3 separate regions of the Homo sapiens genome follow, and regions 2 and 3 are each linked to region 1. The links are contacts of gene promoters, found by promoter capture Hi-C in blood cells and fetal thymus (Javierre and others, 2016). All regions are on one chromosome and are shown on one strand. Each heading gives the region's core, a stretch centred on a gene start or on the middle of the fragment in contact. The rest is flanking DNA. Distances are from core to core; before and after follow the strand shown.

Region 1 (4,227 bases), core at 1,028-3,527:
GAGACGGGGGGATCACGAGGTCAGGAGATCGAGACCATCCTGGCTAACACGGTGAAACCCCGTCTCTACTAAAAATACAAAAATTAGCCGGGCATGGTGGCGCGCGCCTGTAGTCCCAGCTACACGGGAGGCTGAGGCAGGAGAATGGCGTGAACCCGGGAGGCGGAGCTTGCAGTGAGTCGAGATCGCGCCACTGCACTCCAGCCTGGGCGACAGAGCGAAACTCCGTCTCAAAAAAAAAAAAAAAAAAAAAACAAAACAAGGTTATATGTTGATCAGTTGATGAAAACATTGTCACCAGAGGCTCACAGGAACCTAATTCTGTACTTCCCCTAGTAGGAATGGTTTAGTATTCAATAATTATTTGTTGGTGGCTACTTATAAAATCTAACTATCACAGGTACAGTAATGAGAATTAACTATATGTCTTTCTATTCGTATTTCCTATCCTTTCTTACATAAAAATTAAAAATTTCTTTGTACTTTTTGTCTTTGAAAAATATTTCACTAAATAAAGAGAACTGTGTTCAAAAATCACTTGTGATGTTATGTTACCAATTTAATATACAATTAGGTGTATTAGTTTTAGTATGCATTCAATTTTAAGCTCACCTTTTTATTTTCTATTTTTTGAATATGTAAAACATGCACATGGATTAAAAGTCTCACTGTAAAGAAAGTTTTCACTTTCATCCCTATCCCCTCACCCCTTTGTAGTTAACCATTTTTGTGGTCTCTGATTTAACCTTCCAGAGTTGTTTTGTTGTTGTTGTTGCTGTTGTTTTGAGACAGAGTCTCACTCTTGTTGCCTAGGCTGGAGTGTAATGGCCCCATCTCGGCTCACCGCAACCTCTGTCTCCCGGGTTCAGACAATTCTCCTGCCTCAGCCTCCCGAGTAGCTGGGATTACAGGCATGCGCCACCATGCCTGGCTAATTTTTTTGTATTTTTGTAGAGACGGGGTTTCTCCATGTTGGTCAGGCTGGTCTCGAACTCCTGACCTCAGATGATCCGCCCACCTCGGCCTCCCAAAGTGCTGGGATTACAGGCGTGAACCACTGCGCCCGGCTTTTTTTGTTTTTGAGACAGAGCCTTGCTTTGTTGCCCAGGCTGGAGTGGTGGCACGATCTCGGCTCACTGCACCCTCCGCCTCCGAGGCTCAAGAGATTCTCCTGCCTCAACCTCCCCAGGAGCTGGGATTACAGGCGCGCGCCACCACGCCTGGCTAATTTTTTTTTTTTTTTTTTTTTTTTGGTAGAGACGGGGTTTCACCATGTTGGCCCGGCTGTTCTCGAACTCTTGGCCTCAAGTGATCTGCCAGCATCGGCCTCCCAAAGTTCTGGGATTACAGATGTGAGCCACCGCGCCCGGGCCCAGAGGTTTTTAAAATGCAAAAACAAATACATATACTTTTGTTTCCCTTCCTTCATTAAACTTCGCTTTTTTTTAAAAAAGAAAAAAACCCGTATACGTTGGAGGTCACTTTATATTGGTACTGTGAAATCATCCTCCTGTTTTATAAGCCGCGTGTTTACTTATAAGCACTCCACGGGTTAGTCAACTCATTGGAGCAAGCGTTTTGAAGTGTGGCAGATTGACAGTCCACCTGAAATCAGAATAACTGAGTTCAAATCCTGACTACACCATTTAACTCGTCGTTTCATCTTGAGCAAGTCCTTTACCATTTTTGTGTCTCAGTTTTCTCATCTGTAAAATGAGGCTGTTGTGGAAAAGACAGTAGACAGCTCACTGGGCTGTCATGAGCAACACATGAATTCACACATTTAAAGTGCTTATGACAGTGCATGGCGCATACGAAGCCCTCAAGTTAAATAAAAATCGGGGTAGGTGGGAGCGATGGAGATTTATAACAGCTTCCGGTAAATGTCGAGGCACAGTATTTCCAGAGCTTGTGCGAAGTAGGGAACCCAACAGCTCTCATGGCCTCGAAAGAAGGGGGATCCTGTGTCCGGGAAGCTCGGCCGCAGTCCTGCAATGTCTAGGGCAGCGGTGAGAGCGCTGTGGCTGGCTCAACGCAGCCCGACACCAGGGAAGACGCTCTGGCCCTCAGTTTCCCGGCAGCAAAGGAGCGCGAGGTGGTCTCCACTTTCAGCCTACTCGGTCCGGGGTTGCGAACTGTAAGGTCTGAGTTGCTGCGGCGCAGGCAGCGGAGACCAAGCAGGGATCTTAACAGGGTTTAGCGCCACGCGGGCCAGGGCCGAGGCCGGAGCTGGGAGGGGCGCGCCCGGGAAGGGGCGGAGCTGCGGCGGTGGCGCCAAATCGCAAATATGGCGCCGGAGCGGCTGCGGAGCCGGGCGCTCTCCGCCTTCAAGTTGCGGGGCTTGCTGCTCCGTGGGTGAGTGGGCTCGGGCAGCTTGAAGGGCGAGAGGGAAGAGCTGGGGCCCGTCTGCCTGGTGCGGCAGCGGGACGCACCGCGGCGGCTCCCCGCGCGCCGAGAGGGGGCTTGACCTTAAATTTCAGAGTTCTAAGAAGCGGTCGGGCGCGGTGGCTCACGCTTGTAATCCCAGCACTTTGGGAGGTCGAGGCGGGCGGATCACGAGGTCAGGAGATCGAGACCATCCTGGCCAACATGGTGAAGCCCCGTCTCTACTAAAAATACAAAAATTAGCTGGGCGTGGTGGCGCGCGCTTGTAGTCCCAGTTAGTTGGGAGGCTGAGGCAGGAGAATCGCTTGAACCCGGGAGGAGGAGGTTGCGGTGAGCCGATATCGTGCCACTCTACTCCATCCTGGCGACAGAGAGAGACTCCATTAAAAAAAAGTTCTAAGAAGCGAGGTGGATCTTGAGGCTGCCGTGCCTTCTTTGGTTTCCCCGACCCATGCGAGGAGTTTAATGTTTCTTCTAGGCGGGCCGAGGCTCTTCTGCACATGTCAAACTGAGCCCGAGAAGCTGCAACCTATCTATGGCAGCCGGTTATCAACATTGTGACCTGGACAGCTCTCAGGCTCCCGGGAAGGTTGCTGAGACATAAGATGAGAGACCCGAGAAAGCCCACTTGCACGTCTGCAGTTGCCAATTTATGTGAAAGTCAGGTTTCCTGGGCATATCCGTGTTTTTGAGGACCTATAGAACATATGAACCTTCCCAAGATTTCTCTCATTAAATCTGCTCCGTGTTTTAGAGTTCTATATGTACGTGTGTGTGTGTGTGTGTGTGTGTGTGTGTGTGTGTGGTGTGTGTGTATATATATATATGTATTTTTTTTTTTTTGAGTCATGGTCTCACTCTCGCCCAAGCTGGAGGGCAGTGATGCGAACTTGACTTACTGCAGCCTCAACCTCCTGGGCTGAAGTAGCTGGGACTGCAGGCATGGGCCACCATACCTGGCTGATTTTTTGTTGTTGTATGTTTTTTAGAGACGGGGTCTGGCTATGTTGCCCAGGCTGGTCTTGAACTCCTGGGCTCAAGTAGTCCTCGCGCCGTGGCCTCCCAGAATGCTGGAATTACAGGCGTGAACCACTGCGCCTGACCTAGAACACAATATTTTATACATATTGAAATACCTGCTGGATTGGATATACCTCTCTGTATCAGTTTTTATTGCTTTTGTGTGTGTAGATTTTTGGTTGGTTTTGTGAGTTTTATGGGACTTTTAACTGTGCTTTGGGAGATGCCTTGGGAGAAAATAATGAATTTTGTTCAATTGGTCCTTGACATTTTGAAAGCATGAGGAACTGATGAATTAACTTTCTTTTCGCTTAGAATTTGACCTAATATTAAGCTTTTGTTCATTAATTATTTCAGTCATAAGTATACTTAAATCTGTTAGCTGCAAAGCACCGTGCTGGGGTAAGGGGGTGCAATAGAGAGCAAGAGCTTTGTAGGGGGCAGATAATGTATTCTATTGCTGCGTGACAAATTACCCCACAATTTAAAGGCTAAAACAGTACACATTATCTCAAATTTTCTGTGGGTTAGGAATTCAGGTGTGGCTTAGTTGGGTCCTCAACTTCAGGGTCTTTTCACAAGGTTGCAGTCAAGATGGATCATCTCAAATGTTGTCCAGACAGCATTCGCTTCAAGCTCATTCAGTTGTTGGCAGGATTCAGTTCCTGATTGCCTGGCAGGCTGTTGGCTGGAGGCTATCCTCAGTCCCTTGCCATGTGTGCCCCCAACATGGCTTCATCAAGAGAGAGAGTCTTCTAGTAACTCTGAGGCAACCTAATCAAGGAGGTGACATCTTGTTATTTTTAAATTTTTTTTACTTTT
Region 2 (4,653 bases), core at 438-2,937, 410 kb before region 1:
TGATATCTGTGGGTGGTCCTGGAATCAATTCCCCATGGATACTGAGGGATGACCGTATATAGGTTTGGGGGCAGAAGAGAGGGTGGACTGAGAAAGATGATGTCTTTTCTTTTTTTTTTTTTTTTTTTTTGGCAAGACAGAGTCTCATTCTGTAGCCCAGGCTGGAGTGCAGTGGTGCTATCTTGGCTTACTGCAACCTCTGTCTCCCAGATTCAAGCGATTCTCCTGCCTCACCCTCCTGAGTAGCTGGGATTACAGGCGCGTGCCACCACACCCGGCTAATTTTTGTATTTTTAGTAGAGACGGGGTTTCGCCATGTTGTCCGGGCTGGTCTCGAACTCCTGACCTCAGGCCATCCACCTGCCTCAGCCTCTCAAAGTGCTGGGATTACAGACGTGAGCCACCGTGCCCAGCCAAGTTGAGGTCTTATAGATCACCCCAAATGTATAGATTGGGGGAAAGCCCAGGTTAAGGCCCTGGGAAGTACCAAAATTCAAGGAATTATTGGAAAAAAACAGAACACTTAAAGGTGAAATACTGAAATATCTTCTGCCTTGACTCCAGGGACAGTCAGTTCTCAAACAGGTTGATGGTCATATAGCTCCCATTTTTGTATTTCATACACTGAGACTTCCAACCTGACTTTCATCTGCCAGGATTAGATTTTATACATCTGCCCCCAAGTCAACATAATGATGCTGCCTGCTTAGCAGCTTAGCTATCTGCAGCAGTGCCATCTTTGCACCTTGGTACTTGGGCAGCTGTTTTAATACCTGGTCCTTGTTCTAAAAAAAATGAGAGAAGACCCCAAAATGAATATGTTGTTACTAATGATAAGCAACTCAGGTCTCAGATGAATACAACTTAGGATGGAAGCCACTGGTATTCAGAAAGCAGTAAATCTTGTAGCCTCAATAGCTGCTCGTTGGACTTAGTTTGATTGTGAGTTCACTTATGAAAAGGAATGAGGAAAATATGAGTATAGAACCAATATTGGAAATATTGTTGAACATGTGGATCTATTTCTTTTTCTTTTTGATACTGGAACTTTTCTCCTATTTGACTTAAGTAGGTCTGACTTTCTCCGCCCAGCGTCTGGTTGCTCCTCCGTCACCATCCTTCGTTCCTTTTCCTTCTCTGTTGCTTAACTCACAATTCCCTGGGGCTCTGTCTTTTGACCACTCACCTCTGCACACATAGATCTTGCAATTTTCATGATTCCAACTACAAGCTTATTGTAGAGGCCCCCTCTCTAGACCTCTAGCTCCGATCCCTCTCTTAAGTCTGACCTCTCCCCTTCAGCTGCCTGCCTGATGTCTTCCTTTGCTTGCCCAACCAAGAGTATGTCTTAGCAAAATTTCTGCAAAAATAGACTCTTCTGCCTCATATTCTTGTTTTACTAATGGCATCACCATTCTTTTAGCATTTCTAATTTCTTCTGCCTCACATGAACTCAGCGTGTCATACACTGATCTGTGATGGGTTCTCACAGTCTTCCCCCACTTTCCATCTTCACGGCCATCATCACCTCAGGTTGGGCCTCACTCCTCTAATAGTCTCCCCACCTTCAATATCTCTCTACACTTATCTGTGCAGGCGGTGGTGGCAGAGCGTACTCCTAACCTGGGGTTCCAGACTTTTCATCATGCTACTCCCAATAGCCCACCAAGTTCAGGAGAGACTTGGGTTTCCTGACCGAGGCTAACCCACAGGATTCCCCCTGCATAAGAGGCCCTTCTTTTCTGGGGTAGCTAGTGCCAAGGATAAAGTAAGTTTTGAGCTGCTCAAGAGTAAAAGTCAAGATAGAGGAAAGCAGAGTCTAGAAGCAAACAGAGAAATTAGAACGTTTTTCCGATGATTCTGTTTGAGTCTCTGAAGCCAGCTATGTCTAAAGCCACCGCAGCTCCTGGACTTCCCAGTTACCTCACCTAGTTAACTCTGTTCTGCTGGTTTGGGGCTGGGTTTCTCTCCCTTGCAGTGGATCAGATCCTAACTGGTAGAGCATTCAAACCTTTCAGCCCATTAAACCCTACTCTTAAGATCCTTCTCAATCATTACCTTCCCAGAAAGTAATCTGCTTTTTAAGTTTGCATTTTGTCCATAATACCCACCAGATCATCTTAACAGTTGATTTAGAAGCTTTCTAGAATAGTGTTGGTTGCTGATCATACTGTGGAGATCTTATCAAACTACAAAAGTAAGCGTTATGAAACTCATCAGAAAGTAAAAGGGAGGAAACAAAAACCTGCTGTGGGAGTGGTTTGATTTAAATGTAACAAAAGAGGAAATGTACTTCTTTGCACCCAGAAAGTGTTCAAGCCTGCACCTCTCCATCCCCCAATCAAGGGATCATTATTTAGTGAGAATAACTCAAGAGATGAGAAAATGAGTAGCTTACATAAGGAGGTAGATTCTGGGGCTTGGTTCTAACCCCCATGATTATGGGGGTTCCTGAGAAGTGGAGGGAGAATTGCAACATGTATTAGGAGAGGTACTTGGGCAGTGAGGTTTGCCATCTGGAGAGCAAGTGTTTTTTTGTTTGTTTGTTTTGTTTTTTCTTTTCGTTTTTTCTGAGACAGAGTTTCGGTCTTGTCGCCCAGGCTGGAGTGCAATGGCGCAATCTCGGCTCACTGCCGCAACCTCCGCCTCCTGGGTTCAAATGATTCTCCTACCTCAGCCTTCTGAGTAGCTGGGATCACAGGCATGTGCCACCATGCCCAGCTAATTTTGTATTTTTAGAAGAGACAGAGTTTCTGCATGTTGATCAGGCTGGTCTGGAACTCCCGACCTCAGGTGATCTGCCTGCCTTGGCCTATCCACCTGCCTCGGACTCCTAAAGTGCTGGGATTACAGGTGTAAGCCACTGTGCCTGGCCTTTTTTCTTTTTTAAAACTTATTAAAACAAACAAATCAACAACAACAACAACAAAATGAGGTCTTGCTACTTTGCCTAGGCTAGTCTTGAACTCCTGGGCTCAAGCGATTCTCCTACCTCAGCCTCCCAAAGTGCTGAGATTACAGGCATGAGCCACTGCACCTGGCCAGGAGAGCAAGTTTTAAAACTGGCCAGGTCACTATTCACAATAGCAAAGACTTGGAACCAACCCAAATGTCCATCAATGATAGACTAGATTAAGAAAATGTGGCACATATACACTATAGAATACTATGCAGCCATAAAAAAGGATGAGTTCATGTCCTTTGTAGGGACATGGATGAAGCTGGAAACCATCATTCTCAGCAAACTATCGCAAGGGCAGAAAACCAAACACCGCATGTTCTCACTCATAGGTGGGAATTGAACAATGATAACACTTGGACACAGGAAGGGGAACACAACACACAGGGTCCTGTTGTGGGGTCGGGGGAGGGAGGAGGGATAGCATTAGGAGATATACCTAATGTTAAACGATGAGTTAATGGGTGCAGCACACCAACATGGCACATGTATACTTATGTAACAAACCTGCACGTTGTGCACATGTACCCTAGAACTTAAAGTATAAAAAAAAAAGAAAATGGTTGTGAATATTTTGAGTCTAATAATAAATTTTGCCTTTCTTTAAAAAAAAAAAAAAATCTGACCAGGTGTTGTAACTCACGCTTGTTGTAATCCCAGTACTTTGGGAGGCCGAGGCAGGAGGATCATTTGAGACCAGCCTGGATAATGTAGTGGGACCTTGTCTTTACTAAAAATAAATTTCAAAAAATTAACCTGGCGTGGTGGCACATACCTGAAGTTCCAGCTACTGGACAGGCTGAGGTGGGGGCAGTGCTTGAGCCCAGGAGATGAGCCAGCAGTCAGCTATGATCGTGCCACTGTGCTCCAACCTGGGCGACAGAGCACGAACTTAGCTTAAAAAAAATAGTTTTAAAACTGAAGGTGTTTTCTTGTTGCTTTTCTCTTGGATTATGGGGAAAGTCACTTTCAGAGTGGAGTTTCAATTTTTTTCCTTTTCTGTTGTATTTCCCTTCAGTTACCCAGCCTTCAGGAAAATCTGACACTTGGGTACTGCCTATGTGTGGTGGCAGAAAGTGAAGACAGAGGCCAGTATAGGACACATACCTGCCCCACATCTACTGTTCCCACGGTAGAGTCCTAGGTTGATCTTAAAGGCAGCTTTGATGATTGACAGATGATTGGCTGCAGTTGTAGCAGAATTAACCAGCTTACCAGGTTAAATGTTGGGGTTGCGTGTGGGTGGGCTTCAGACTCAAAAATTGATGGAAGTGCCGGCTGGGCGTGGTGCTCACGCATGTAATCCCAGCATTTTGAAAGGCCGAGGCAGGTGGATCGCTTGAGGTCAAGAGTTCCAGACCAGACTGGCCAACATGGTGAAACCCTGTCTGTACTAAAAACACAAAAATTAGCCAGGCATGGTGGCGTGCGCCTGTAATCCCAGCTACTCGGGAGGTTAAAGCAGGAGAATTGCTTGAACCCAGGAGGCAGAGTTTGCAGTGAGACGAGATCTTGCTGCTGCACACCAGCCTGGGCAACAGAGTGACATTCCATCTCAAGAAAAAAAAAAAAAGAAAAAGAAAAAAAATTCTGACAGAAGTTCTGCCTCATTGATCTGCTTAATGTGATCAGGGATAACATAGGATCCAAGCTAATCCTGCCACTTAGCAATTCAGAGCTATGCATTTAGATGA
Region 3 (4,277 bases), core at 723-3,222, 490 kb before region 1:
CGGAGGTTGCAGTGAGCCGAGATCGCGCCACTGCACTCCAGCTTGGGTGGAATAGTGAGACTCTGTCTCAAAAAATAAATAGAAAAATAAATAAAAAATAAAGATGAATCTGGAGTGTGATTTCAGGATTATGTTCCCTATAGGAGGAAGATTTGGAGAAATCTTAAAAAGTTGAGATAACCTCAACCTCCTATGTACTCATACTGATTTTTCTATGAGGCCTACAATTTAAAGGAGATAAATACTGTATTGAGGGAGAGTATGCAAGTTAGTTGGTTCAGGAATACACTTAGATAAAATGAAAATAAGTGGAGAGATACAAATAAAATTTTATTTTTACTATCTCAACACTAACAACAAAAGTTATGTTGGCATAGGTAATACTTGGCTAAATATGTAAAACTTCTACATCTAAACTGACTTTTCCAGCCAGACGTGGTGGCTCTTGCCTATAATCCCAGCACTTTGGGAGGCTAAGGTCAGAGGATTGCTTGGACCCAGGTGTTTGAGACCAGCCTGGGCAAAATAGGGAGACCTCATCTCTACAAAATATAAAAACTTAGCCGAGTGTGGTGGCGTGCACCTGTGGCATGCCAGGAGAATTGCTTGAGCCTGGGAGGTCAAGGCTGCAATGAGTCATGATCACGCCACTGCACTCCAGCCTTGGGTACAGAGTGAGACCCAGTCTCAAAAAAAATAAAAATAAAAAATAAACTGGCTTTTACCCCTTGACGTTTGAATATGGTAAAAATCCTTATAGTCCTGAAACAAACAAGCAAACAAATGAACAAACCTTTCTTCACTCTAGTAGAATAATTAACTAGAGTGAAGAAAGTTTTTTCATTTCCTCTCTCATTTTTTCTTTGCAGCCAATTGTCTTTATATTATTTTTTACCATTCTTTATGAAAACACTACCATGTATGTTTTAATCAGGATATAAATTGCCTTTGACAAGTAACTTAATTGCCAAATCCAGTGGATATTTTTATTTCATACTTAATGTCTGTAGTATTTGTTACTGCTCTTATCTCTTGGTTCCTGTATACCTGAAGGCTGGGCGTGATGTCTCATGCCTGTAATCCCAGCACTTTGGGAGGCTGAGGTGGGTGGATCGGATCACCTGAGGTCAGGAGTTCCAGACCAGCCTTGCCAGCCTGGCGAAACCCTGTCTCTACTAAAAAATGCAAAAATTAGCTGGGTGTGGTGGCATGCACCTGTAATCCCAGCTACTCGGGAGGCTGAGGCAGGAGAATTGCTTGAACCCGGGAGGCGGAGGTTGCAGTGAGCCGAGATCGTGCCACTACACTCCAGCCTAGGTGACAGAGCAAGACCCTGTCTCCAAAAAATATATATATATATATGTGTGTGTATATGTGTGTATATATATATATATATATATATATATATATATATATATATGCACACACACACACACACACACACTAGCGGGCATGGTGGTGCACACCTGTAGTTCTAGCTACTACAGAGGCAGAGGCAGGAGGATCACTTGGAGGCAGGAGGATCACTTGAACCCAGGAGGTGGGGGTTGCAGTGAGCCGAGATTGCAACACTGCACTCAAGCCTGGGCTACAGAGTGAGACTCTGTCTCAACAAAAAAAAGAAAAAGAAGACTGAGACTGGGTGATTTATAAAGAAAAGAGATTTAATTGGCTCAGAGTTCCACAGGCTCTACAGGAAGCACGGCTGGGGAGGCCTCAGGAAACTTACGATCATGGCGGAAGCCAAAAGGGAAGCAGGCACGTCTTCACATGGTCAAAGCAAGAGGAAGGAGCAGGGAGGTGCCACACACTTTTAAACAACTAGATCTCCTGAGAACTCTATTACAAGAACAGCATTAAAGGAAGAAATCCACCCCCATGATCCAGTTACCTCCCACTAGGCCCCACCTCCAAAATTGGGGATTACAGTTGAACATGAGATTTGGACGGGGACACAAAATCAAACCATATCAGCTCCTGTGATACTACATGTTCCCAATTTTCGTCTTCTCTGATTTCTTCTTCTAAGTCTCTTAATTATTATAGCTATTATCCAACTTCTGTTATCAGCCCCTGTTTTTCTGTTCTGTGCTCTCCTTGGGTGACTTCATGTCTATATACTGGTGACTTCTTATTTGTATTTCCAGGCCATCACTTTCTTTTAAGCACTGTGTACCGTGTACATATGTGTATGTATCTATACACTTTCATATAACCAGCTGCCTTGAATTGATGCACTTGGATACCCTAAACGCACTTCAAATATGACATGTTTAAAACTGAACTTACCATCTTCTCCCTGCCTTCTGTACTATAAATTCCCATTGTTTATTATCTTCCACTTCTCTATTGTCAAAAATTTGTTATCATGGAATACAAATTATACTTAATTCTCAAAATTACTTCAAGAGAGGAATATTTTTAAAGTTAACTCATATATTCATATAAAGTATGCATTAAATACACAGTCTATAAGAACTTTGGATACTCATTAAAAGCACTCAACACATTTCTTGTTTCAGTCCTATTTTATTAGGAATTTTTGCTGTGGAATTTGAATGTTAAAGGGCCCAGTTATTAATAAAGCTGTCATCCTAGATATTCAGTGAAATTGGAAGAGTTAGATGAAATCCTTTTTCGGGCCAAACTCAATTGTTTTAACTTAAAAAAAAATTCATTCAGTTTAAGATAAAATAATGCTTCCTTAATAAAACTAAAAACAAAAAGCATCTTTAGAAGCTGTGTAGCGTACTTTATTTATTTATTTATTTAGAGACAGGGTCTCACTCTGTTGCCCAGGCTGGAGTGCAGTGGCACAGTCTCAGTTCATTGCAACCTCCGCCTCCCGGGTTAAAGCGATTCTCCTGCCTTAGCCTCTTGAGTGACTGAGACTACAAGTGTGGACCACCACGCCTGGCTAATTTTGGTATTTTTTTGGTAGAGACAGAGTTTCACCATATTGGCTAGGCTGTTCTGTTGACCATGAGGCACCATACCTGGACTGTGTAGCAGACTTAAAAAAATAAGATTTGAAGTTAGAACTTAAGGCTTTGGGCCAATTAATAGTTTTGTTTGTTTGTTTGCGGCGGAATCTCGCTCTTTCACCCAGGCTGGAGTGCAGTGGCGCGATCTTGGCTCACTGCAACCTCTGCCTCTTGGGTTTAAGGAGTCCTCCTGCCTCAGCCTCCTAAGTAGCTGGGACTACAGGCGCATGCCACCACACCTGGCTAATTTTTGTATTTTTAGTAGAGATGGGGTTTCCCCATGTTGGCCAGGCTGTTCTCAAACTCTTGACTTCAGGTAATCCTCCTGACTCAGCCTCCCAAAGTGCTGGGATTACAGGCGTGAGCCATCACGCCCAGCCCCAGTTAATGGTTGTGTTACCTTGAGCAATTCACTTAATCTCTGAGACTCAGTTTGCTCATTTGTAAAATGGTGATCATCATAATATATACCTCTTATAGTTATTAGGAAATTAAATGGTAATGTATATATAAAGCATAAGCATAATGTTTGATGTGTATTAAATACTCAAATGTAGCTCCTGTTATTATCAGAGGACTCCTTACACTGTAAATACATGCTACAAAAATTTTAGAATGCACTTTATCAGGCATTTTAGTACAAATAAGCAAAACAGTTGATCTTGTAGACTAATTTTGAAGTTTCATATTGGTTCCAGTTCAAGCACTGTATATAAAATATCCAGAATAATTCACTATATTAATTAGTTTAATACTGTCTTAGTCTATTCAGGCTGCTCTAATAAAATATCATAAACTGGATGGCTTATAAACAATAGAAATTTATTTCTCACAGTTCACATTTAGGAAGTCCCATATCAAGAGGCTAACAGATTTGGTGTCTAGTTTGGTGCCCTAGTGAGGGTTTGCTCTTCTGGTTCATAGATGGTGCTTTCTTGTTGTGTCCTCACATGATGGATAGCACAAACAAGCTCCCTTAGGCCCCTTTTATAAGGGCACTAACCCCGTTCACAGGGGCTCTGCCCTCATATCCAATCACCTCCTAAAGGCCCCATCTCTTAATACTGTTGCATTGGGGATTAGGTTTCAATATATGACTTTTGAGGGAACACAAACATTCAGATCATAACAAATGTGAAAATGAATTAATCTTTAGGAAAATTGGTGGCACTTTTTGTGTATCCTAGTAAGAAGTTTGGTTACTGGATAATAAGTCTGTTGAAAAGATTATAATTTAACAAAATGTGAAAATTATGGTAATATTTATGAAGATTTTTTTAAAGCAGCATATCA

The links. The method cuts DNA at HindIII sites, captures the fragments that hold promoters and counts their contacts. A CHiCAGO score of 5 or more calls a contact.
Region 2: a contact is called between a fragment that was not itself captured here and the fragment with the promoter of POLE2 in region 1, in 1 of 17 cell types (fetal thymus). The highest score is 5.4, in fetal thymus.
Region 3: a fragment that was not itself captured here is called in contact with the fragment with the promoter of POLE2 in region 1 in 2 of 17 cell types (activated CD4 T cells and naive CD8 T cells); the score reaches 5.9 in activated CD4 T cells.

The regions. Positions count from the first base shown.
Region 1 is chr14:49,686,264-49,690,490 of GRCh38, reverse strand. It overlaps POLE2 (DNA polymerase epsilon 2, accessory subunit), which reads left to right and starts at 2,277. Exons shown (of 19, transcript NM_002692.4): 1 at 2,277-2,355. The coding sequence starts at 2,288. RefSeq lists a silencer at 2,165-2,214 and enhancers at 1,519-2,278, 2,279-3,040. The HindIII fragment of the contact is 3,892 bases long and covers 1-3,741 here.
Region 2 is chr14:50,093,685-50,098,337 of GRCh38, reverse strand. All of the region lies in intron 1 of LINC01599 (long intergenic non-protein coding RNA 1599), which reads left to right. Among named protein-coding and RNA genes, the nearest start is that of LINC01599, 9.0 kb to the left of the region's middle. The HindIII fragment of the contact is 908 bases long and covers 1,234-2,141 here.
Region 3 is chr14:50,175,815-50,180,091 of GRCh38, reverse strand. All of the region lies in intron 7 of SOS2 (SOS Ras/Rho guanine nucleotide exchange factor 2), which reads left to right. Among named protein-coding and RNA genes, the nearest start is that of SOS2, 54 kb to the left of the region's middle. The HindIII fragment of the contact is 5,834 bases long and covers 1-4,277 here.